Linked DNA regions of Homo sapiens: regions 1 and 2 are each linked to region 3. The links are contacts of gene promoters, found by promoter capture Hi-C in human tissues and cell types (Jung and others, 2019). All regions are on one chromosome and are shown on one strand. Each heading gives the region's core, a stretch centred on a gene start or on the middle of the fragment in contact. The rest is flanking DNA. Distances are from core to core; before and after follow the strand shown. Region 1 holds the start of PELP1 (proline, glutamate and leucine rich protein 1). Region 2 overlaps USP6 (ubiquitin specific peptidase 6). Region 3 holds the start of GP1BA (glycoprotein Ib platelet subunit alpha).

Evidence for each region. The method cuts DNA at HindIII sites, captures the fragments that hold promoters and counts their contacts. A contact is called where the count stands out against the background at its distance.
Region 1: the fragment with the promoter of PELP1 here is called in contact with the fragment with the promoter of GP1BA in region 3 in 2 of the 25 tissues and cell types used here (dorsolateral prefrontal cortex and spleen).
Region 2: a contact is called between a fragment that was not itself captured here and the fragment with the promoter of GP1BA in region 3, in 1 of the 25 tissues and cell types used here (dorsolateral prefrontal cortex).

The regions. Positions count from the first base shown.
Region 1 is chr17:4,702,876-4,705,575 of GRCh38, reverse strand. PELP1 (proline, glutamate and leucine rich protein 1) reads left to right here and starts at 1,439. Exons shown (of 17, transcript NM_014389.3): 1 at 1,439-1,713. The coding sequence starts at 1,465. It overlaps PELP1-DT (PELP1 divergent transcript), which reads right to left and starts at 1,346. Exons shown (of 2, transcript NR_103482.1): 1 at 1,206-1,346; 2 at 47-377. It also overlaps the pseudogene RPS12P29. The HindIII fragment of the contact is 43,472 bases long and covers 1-2,700 here.
Region 2 is chr17:5,118,186-5,120,885 of GRCh38, reverse strand. USP6 (ubiquitin specific peptidase 6) reads right to left here. Exons shown (of 38, transcript NM_001304284.2): 2 at 2,596-2,686; 3 at 98-259. It also overlaps a transcript of ZNF232 not described here. Among named protein-coding and RNA genes, the nearest start is that of USP6, 3.5 kb to the right of the region's middle. The HindIII fragment of the contact is 5,478 bases long and covers 1-2,700 here.
Region 3 is chr17:4,930,947-4,933,646 of GRCh38, reverse strand. GP1BA (glycoprotein Ib platelet subunit alpha) reads right to left here and starts at 1,370. Exons shown (of 2, transcript NM_000173.7): 1 at 1,282-1,370; 2 at 1-1,048. The coding sequence starts at 1,042. The HindIII fragment of the contact is 8,753 bases long and covers 1-1,389 here.

The DNA of each region.
Region 1 (2,700 bases), core at 190-2,689, 230 kb after region 3:
GCATAAAGAAGGCCATGAGTGAAAACAAGCCACACGCAGACCCCAATCTTGTAAAATATTCATTTATGTGCTTGTGCATAGACTAATATTAGGAAAGTATACACGCTACTGGGGCAGGGCTTTGCGGGGGAGGAGCAGTTTTTCTTTTTACTTTATGCCTTTCTGTACTGTTTGAATTGGCTTTTGCAAGGCGCACGTCTTGTATCATTTCTGAAGTTGCAAATGTAGTTAAAAATGTCTGTGATTTCAAGTTACCTAGAGAGTTATTGATTCCTTCTCTTTCCCTGCCGCTGCCGAGTTGCGCGGAGGCGGAGGCTTGGGTACCTTCAAGATTCAGCTTCACTTGTAACCCACCGCCACGGCCGAGGAAGGCATTGCTGCTGGAGGGGTAATGGATGTTAATACTGCTTCACAAGAGGTGCTGAAGACCGCTCTCATCCACCATGACCTAGCACGTGGAATTCGCGAAGCTGCCAAAGCCTTAGACAAACGCCAAGCCCATCTTTGTGTGCTTGCATCCAACTATGATGAGCCTACTATGTATGTCAAGTTGGTGGAGGCCTTTGTGCTGAACACCAAATCAACCTAATTAAGGTTGATGACAACAAGAAACTAGGAGAATGGGTAGGGCTCTGTAAAAATCGACAGAGAGGGGAAACCCCGTAAAGTGGTTGGTTGCAGTTGTGTAGTAGTTAAGGACTATGGCAAGGAGTCTCAGGCCAAGGATGACATCGAAGAGTACTTGAAATGCAAGAAATGAAGAAATAAATCTTTGGCGCGCGTACACACACACACACGTTACTGATTCCTAGGCAGGGTGCGGTGGCTCATGCCTGTAATCTCAGCACTTTGGGAGGCCAAGGCGGGCGGAACACCTGAGGTCAGGAGTTCAAGACCATCCTGGCCAACATGGTGAAACCCCATCTCTACAAAAATACAAAAAAAATTAGCCGGGCGTGGTGGCGCGCGACTGTAATCCCATCTACTCGGGAGGCTGAGGCAGGGAAATCGCTTGAACCTGGAAGGTGGAGGTTGCGGTGAGCCGAGATCGCGCCACTGCACTCCAGCCTGGGCCACAGAGCGAGACTCCGTCTCAAAAAAAAAAAATGAGAGTTATTGATTCCTACAGCGAAGATGTCCCAAGACTCCGTCCGCTAAATGGAAATCGTTCCGACTTTGGCGCCTTTTGTCCGGACCACGTGTACCTTTAACATCACAGGACCGCCTCGGACACGCTCACAGGCAGCCTCATCCGCCATCACTCCGGGAACCGAGCACCCCGCTGCCTCGGCGCCCAGGCTGCTCTCTCCGCGCATGCTCCTTCCCAGCTTGAGCCCGCGAGTCCAGCCTGCCTTCACTCAGTGCGCAAGACCGCAGCCCCCTCCCCACGCCCCCTCCCCAGTAGGCGGCCGTCGCGGTGTGTTTGCGTCATCGCGCCACGCCACCACTGGAACCCGGGGGAAGATGGCGGCAGCCGTTCTGAGTGGGCCCTCTGCGGGCTCCGCGGCTGGGGTTCCTGGCGGGACCGGGGGTCTCTCGGCAGTGAGCTCGGGCCCGCGGCTCCGCCTGCTGCTGCTGGAGAGTGTTTCTGGTTTGCTGCAACCTCGAACGGGGTCTGCCGTTGCTCCGGTGCATCCCCCAAACCGCTCGGCCCCACATTTGCCCGGGCTCATGTGCCTATTGCGGCTGCATGGGTCGGTGGGCGGGGCCCAGGTGAGTCCGTGGCCCGCGTGCCCGCGGCCCTGTGGGGAGGATGGCGCGGCACCTGTGCGCCGGGATTACGGTGCAGTGCAAGTGCGATAGGGAGGTTGAAGGAAGGAGAGCTGCGGGCAGAAAGGGGATCCAGGTATCAGTCCGGACGGGATGCACGTATTTCTCCTTTATCGGCCATGAGTTTCTCCAGGGGAAAAATGGGCCTTATTTTTCTGTTGTTAGGCTATTGGTCGGCACACAGGAATCGATTAGGTTCCAGGCCCGGTCACTCACTAGTTGTATAATCTAAAAGTCTCTTTTTCCTCTGGCAATATCTGTTTCGGGGATTGTTTCGACTGACTGAATGACGCATTCAACAATAAACATTTACCGAGCTCTTATTGAGGGTCAGATACTGTACTAGGCGCTCCGGTTACAGACGTGGTGGCGATACACAAAATGCTGCGAAACAAGATGAGAATTGAATATCAGGGGTCTCTAACCTTATCTGAAGACTGGCAGAGATTTTTCCAAAGAAACCGGCGTTTAAGCTGAGACCCTAAGGATGAATAGGGGTTGGGTAGGGAAAAAATATGGGAGGGGCTGTTCAGTCAGAGGAGAGCTCATGTGGGAAGACCCTGTGGTAGGAAGGAACTGGAAAGAAGGGCATCGTTCCTGGGGCTCAGATGTGGAGGGGAAGAGAGTGGGTACAGATGAGACTGGTGAGATGGGTAGGCAGTGGTCGGGTCATGCAGAGCGTTTTAGGCCGGGTTAGGAGCCTTTGGACTTCTATAAGAATGGAATCTGATAACCATTCAGTTCTGCAAGCTAGACACTCAAGTAATTCTAAACTCTTCTTCATACACCTCCATAAGCAATCTGTCAAGTCCTGTTGATTTTATCCTTTGAGTAGTTTTCAGATCTGTCCACTCTTTTCCATCTTTCTCATTGCTCCCATTCTAGCTTGAACCCCCACCATCTTGTCCGGGTGAAGGCACTGATTCTAAG
Region 2 (2,700 bases), core at 180-2,679, 190 kb before region 3:
ACTGGGACAGCCTGTGGATCTGCCAGCGTTCCAGCTGCACCAGCATGCAGCACATGTGCCCACATGTGTGCACACCTGCTTACATATGGCCACCCACCATGCTGAAGAAACAGCCCTTGGCATCCTTGTAGCTCTTCTCCACCAATTTCTTGTCCTGGTCATGCATCTCATTCAGGATCCAGCTCAGGTTCACTCCAGGCACAGTGTCCATCTTCACACTGACATCCTCATCCACCTGACCTCAAAGGGCCTTCATTTCCTGGGCAGAGAGGACAGCAGGAGCTCACCCAAGGCCATCCTGGGGAAAGACCCTGGGGCCTGCCTTCTTTCCCTCGGAGAGACAGGTGCAGATGACAGACAGACAGACAGACAGACACAGATAGGCCAACAGCTCCTCACCCTGAAGGTGGAGGTGGATATTGTCATTACTCAAACATACAGGGCTATGAATATCAGCAACCTCCCACAACACACACTGTGACTCGGGACTGGACTTCACCCATCCCCAACAAGTGCTAAGCCCTGAGAGATAACAACCCCCCAGCACAGTGGAGGATGACCACAGGCGACCTCACTCACTGCCCTGACCTTGCCCCCACCACTGCCTTGCCCCCACCACCAACCCCACAGCACAGGCATGCAGAGAGCAACCCTACGTTGGTGTCACCGTGCCAGGCCCCATTAGCAAATGTTAATCTGCTGGAGGAAAGCAATGTATAACCAGCCTCAAAGCCAGGGGGAAACACCTTCCGGGTGTCCTGCTTCTTGGGGAGTAGGCTTCCCCAGCTTAGAGCAGCACAGAACTCGGCTGAGAAGGAAGCCACAGGAGAGGGCACGTAAGGCCTCCTGACTGCCCCGGCAGGACCTTGGATCTCTATCCTTGGGTTGAGCCTTGGAGTTCCTGGGACCTAGAACCTTCTGGAAAGGAGAGGCAGGAGAGGGGGCAGAGAGGTGGGGTGGATACAAGTCCGACAGACCTGAAGGAGGGGTCCCTGTGCAGCCGTAGATAAATCCCTTAACCTCTCTGAGCTTCAGTTTCTTCACGGGTCAAAAGGAAGAAAGAGTATCTTTCTCCCAGCTGTTTATCAGCTGAGATGATGGCTGTGAGTCACTTGTAGTGCTGGGCAGAAGTTCCTTGTTTTAATGACTATCACTATTATAATTAATTATAATAATTAGCATTGTGTGTTCTTACACTGAGTTACTCATTAGTTAGTTAACTGCAGTGAGCTGAGCCTCAAGGGACAAATGAAGTCTATTTGGGAAGAGGGGCTCCTCCAGGCCTCACCCAGGGTCCTCTGAGGGTCAGGGCTAGGCATCCATAAAAGATGGGAACTGGACTGGAAGCATGGCCCAGCCCAGGGGGTTTCTGGGCCCCAGCCTCGCTTGCTTCCAGGTGAATTTCTGCTGCATTCCCTGAGCTGACCTCACTTTAGTGGGGGCTGAAGAAGGACAAAAGAGTTAATTTTCAGATAATCAGGTAATTCATGAAATAAAAGCCCACCTATTCAAAGCTTTTATAGGTAGCAGAAGCTAATGTAGTAATGTCCAATTTGTAAACCTGAATTCCACAAAATAAAACCTACCTGTTAGGGAGCAGTCTACTTTGGAACTTTGAGAAAAGAGCCTAAATGATCAAAGTTTGCCTTCATAAGATTTTAAACAGCTAAAGAACCAAACTCCAAGAGGACCAAAACTGAGAAAAAGTCAGAGTCTGATAATCTCTTTGAGGAAGAGGGGTGATTGGAGTGTGGCTTAGGAGAGGTTTCTTCATATAAATACTTGATAGTGATAGAGGCAGGACATGAAGTTGAGAAATTCTAAGCAGATGTGGCAGGCCCCCAGTGAAACCCCATCTTTGAGCCGAAAAGCCTGAAACCCACAGCCCAAAGTGAGAACTTCTATTCCTGTTTGCTTACTCCCTCCCGATTGGTTCTTTCTGAATAATGTCTTCTTACCAATCAAATGTTGCCTTTTCCAAAAATACCTATGGCTGCCCCACCCTCATCCTGTGCCTATAAAGACCCCAGACTCAGTCAGTAGATGAGAGAGATGGCCAGACTTTCGGGAAGAAATGGCCAGACTTTGGGGAGAAGATGACCTGCCCTTTCTACCCCCTCTCTAGCTCCCCTCTCCGCTGAGAGCCACTGTGATCACTCTGTAAAATTCTCCACCTTCACCATCCTTCAAGTGCTCCACACAACCTCATTCTTTTTGGATGCCAGACAAGAGCTTGGGACCCACCAAGTTTGGCTACCCAAAAGGCTGTCACACTCACCCTTTGCCCTCACCAGTGGCAGGTAGCCACCCCACGCAATGGGGCTAGGGGCCAGCTGAGCTGTTAACACATACCCATCCTCAAACAGTGGCGCTAAGAGAGCACTGTAACACTCCCTCTGGGGATTTGGGATCACAGGCACCCCCACTTGGGCAGCACCGCAGACCCCAAATGGAGCTTGCTCCTGCAGCTGCCCAGAGCAGCCAGCTAGATCCTGCAGTCGTTTGCTCATGCCTGGTCTGGTCACAGGCTCCGCAAAGAGCTTGCTCATGCTGGTGCCTGTAGTGGCCAGCCAGATCCTGCACTTGCTCACTCACCTGCACACTCCTGCAAGAGGTTGAGCACAGTGGGCTGAGTAAACAGGGCACCCCTGTCTTGAGTCCCACGAAGGAATCAAGGAAAAAAATCCTGTATCAATAGGA
Region 3 (2,700 bases), core at 121-2,620:
ATTCTTGTGTTGGATGCAAGGAGGAGGGCATTTGGCTGTCTAGAGAAGCAGTGGACCATGAGTAGAATAGACCCCAGGGGGTTGTATGGGCTTTGGTGGGGAACTTGACCACAGTCCTTGTGGCACGCACCTTATCGCCCTCAGTGTCCTCTTCTGGGTAGTAATCATATAGGTCTGTGTCACCTTCATCACCAAGGGTGGGGCACCCCTTTCCTGGGTATTTGTAGACGGGAAACTTGTCTGAATTGTCACACTGCACACTGGCCACGTTAGAGGTCATGGCCTTGACGTCCACACCTTGCTTCCATACGTAGACATTTTCAGCATTGTCCTGCAGCCAGCGACGAAAATAGAGGATCTCACAGTTGCATAACCAGGGGTTCCCGTGGAGAAAAGCAAAAGGCAGGAGGTGGGACCCAAAAAAGCCCTTTGGTATTGTATACAGCGAGTTCTCTTGGAGGAGAAGGGTGTCGAGATTCTCCAGCCCATTCAGGAGCCCAGCGGGGAGCTCAGTCAAGTTGTTGTTAGCCAGACTGAGCTTCTCCAGCTTGGGTGTGGGCGTCAGGAGCCCTGGGGGCAGGGTCTTCAGCTCATTGCCTTTCAGGTAGAGCTCTTGGAGTTCGCCAAGACCACGCAGGGCACCAAGAGGCAGCGAGGTCAGCCGGTTGAAGGAGACGTCCAGGACGGTGAGAGCAGGCAGTGTCTGCCCTAGCAAGGGCAGGCTTTGCAGCTGATTGTGGGATAGATCCAGGGTCCCCAGCACTGGCAGCGTCCCATCGACCTGGAGCTTGGTGAGCTCGCACCTATCTAGGTTCAGCTGAGTGAGGCGAGTGTAAGGCATCAGGGTTGCCAGGGAGAAGGTGTACAGGAGGTTCTCACTCAGGTGGAGGATGGTTGTGTCTTTCGGCAGGTCTGGAGGCAGCGCTGTCAGATTCCTCTTGTCACAGTTCACTTCTAGGTGGCTGGCCACTTTGGAGACCTCACAGATGGGGTGGGGGTGTAAGGGGCTTGGCAGCAGGAGCAGCAAGAGGAGGAGAGGCATGAGGACCTGTGGGCAAGGGAGCCTTGAGTGGATCCCCCTGCATCCCCTGGAAGCATCCCCCCAGGCCCCAGCCCCCTTCCCCCTGCAGCTTCGCTTCCAGAAACAGCATCCACACCTCCTGTCCTCCCTACTCCCATCTCCCACCCTTGCCTGCAGAACTTAAAACTACTAGCTCCAGGTCCTTGGCTCTTTCCCCTCCCTCAGACCCCTCTCCTGCCCCAGCACCAACCCCGGCTTACAGGCAGGCAGAAAGACCTCCGAAGGCACAGAGCGTCTTCTAGGGTGCCACTCGACTCCGTCCTTCTCTCTTCTAGCCCCATGGAGGACTAAGCCAGTGGCAAGGAAGGGGATGGGGGTGAGGAGGAAATGCAGGCCTGATAGGGATTCCAGTGACCGGGAATCCCCTGGACACAAGCCCTTATCGCCTCACTCCACGGCTTTCCCCCAGGCCCTCTTTGTGGTTCTCTCTTCCGCTTTCCTTTTACACAGGGGAGATGGGGGTGGACTCCTCCAAACAGCCTTCTGCCATCTTTTAAAAACCTCTCCAGGGCCGGGCGCGTGGCTCATGCCTGTAATCCCAGAACTTTGGGAGGCTGAGGCGGGCGGATCACCTGAAGTCAGGAGTTCGAGACCAGCCTGACCAACACGGGGAAACCCTGTCTCTACTAAAAATACATTAGCCAGGCGTGGTGGCGCATGCCTGTAATCCCAGCTACTCGGGAGGCTGAGGCAGGAGAATCGCTTGAAACCGGGAGGTGGAAAGAGGTTGCGGTGAGCCGAGATCGTGCCATTGTACTCCAGCCTGGGTGACAAGAGCAAAACTCCATCTTAAAAACAAAAAAACCTCTCCAGATGCCCGCTTCTCTTCCTCTTCACAGCTGCATTCTGAGAGTTGCCTACTTTTAATTCTCTCCCACCTTTCTCTCTGCCTTCTCACCCCAGTCTATGCTGATTTCTTTCCCCTGCTACTCCATTGACTCGGTTCTTACCAAGGTCTTTAATGCTCTCCCTCCTCTACATCCATGGGAAACTTCTCCACTGTGATCTTACTTTATTTCGGCAGCCTGCATACCCATGGCCACTCGCCCCTTGGGATTCTCCTTTTGGCCTCTGTGACACATGACCCTGTAATTTTCTTGGTTTTCTTCTTACCTGTTTGGTTGGGCCTTCTCAGTCTCCTTCATAGATTCCCCTTCTTGAACAATTAAACTGCCCCCAGAGTTTGTGCTTAGGCTGTCTTCATTCCCAGCTAATTTTTATATTTTTAGTAGAGACGGGGTTTCACCATGTTGGTCAGCCTGGTCTCGAACTCCTCATCTCAAGTGATCCACCCACATTGGCTTCCCGAAGTGCTGGGATTAGAGGCATGAGCCACCGCGCCCGGCATTCTCTTCTTTTCTTACGCTATGCAACCACCTGAGATTATCCTCATCCATTCCCTTGCCTTCAACCACCACCTACAACCTAATGACTCTCAAATCTATGTCTCTAGTCCAGACCCTTCTCCTGAGACACAAGCACATATGTCCAGCTGCCTTCTGGACATCTCTACTTGGATGTCCCACAGACACCAAAACAATATGTTCAAAGCTGAACTCACCATCTCTCTCCAAATGGCTTCTCCTCCTGTGTTGCTCAGCCTGGTGAGTGGCACCATC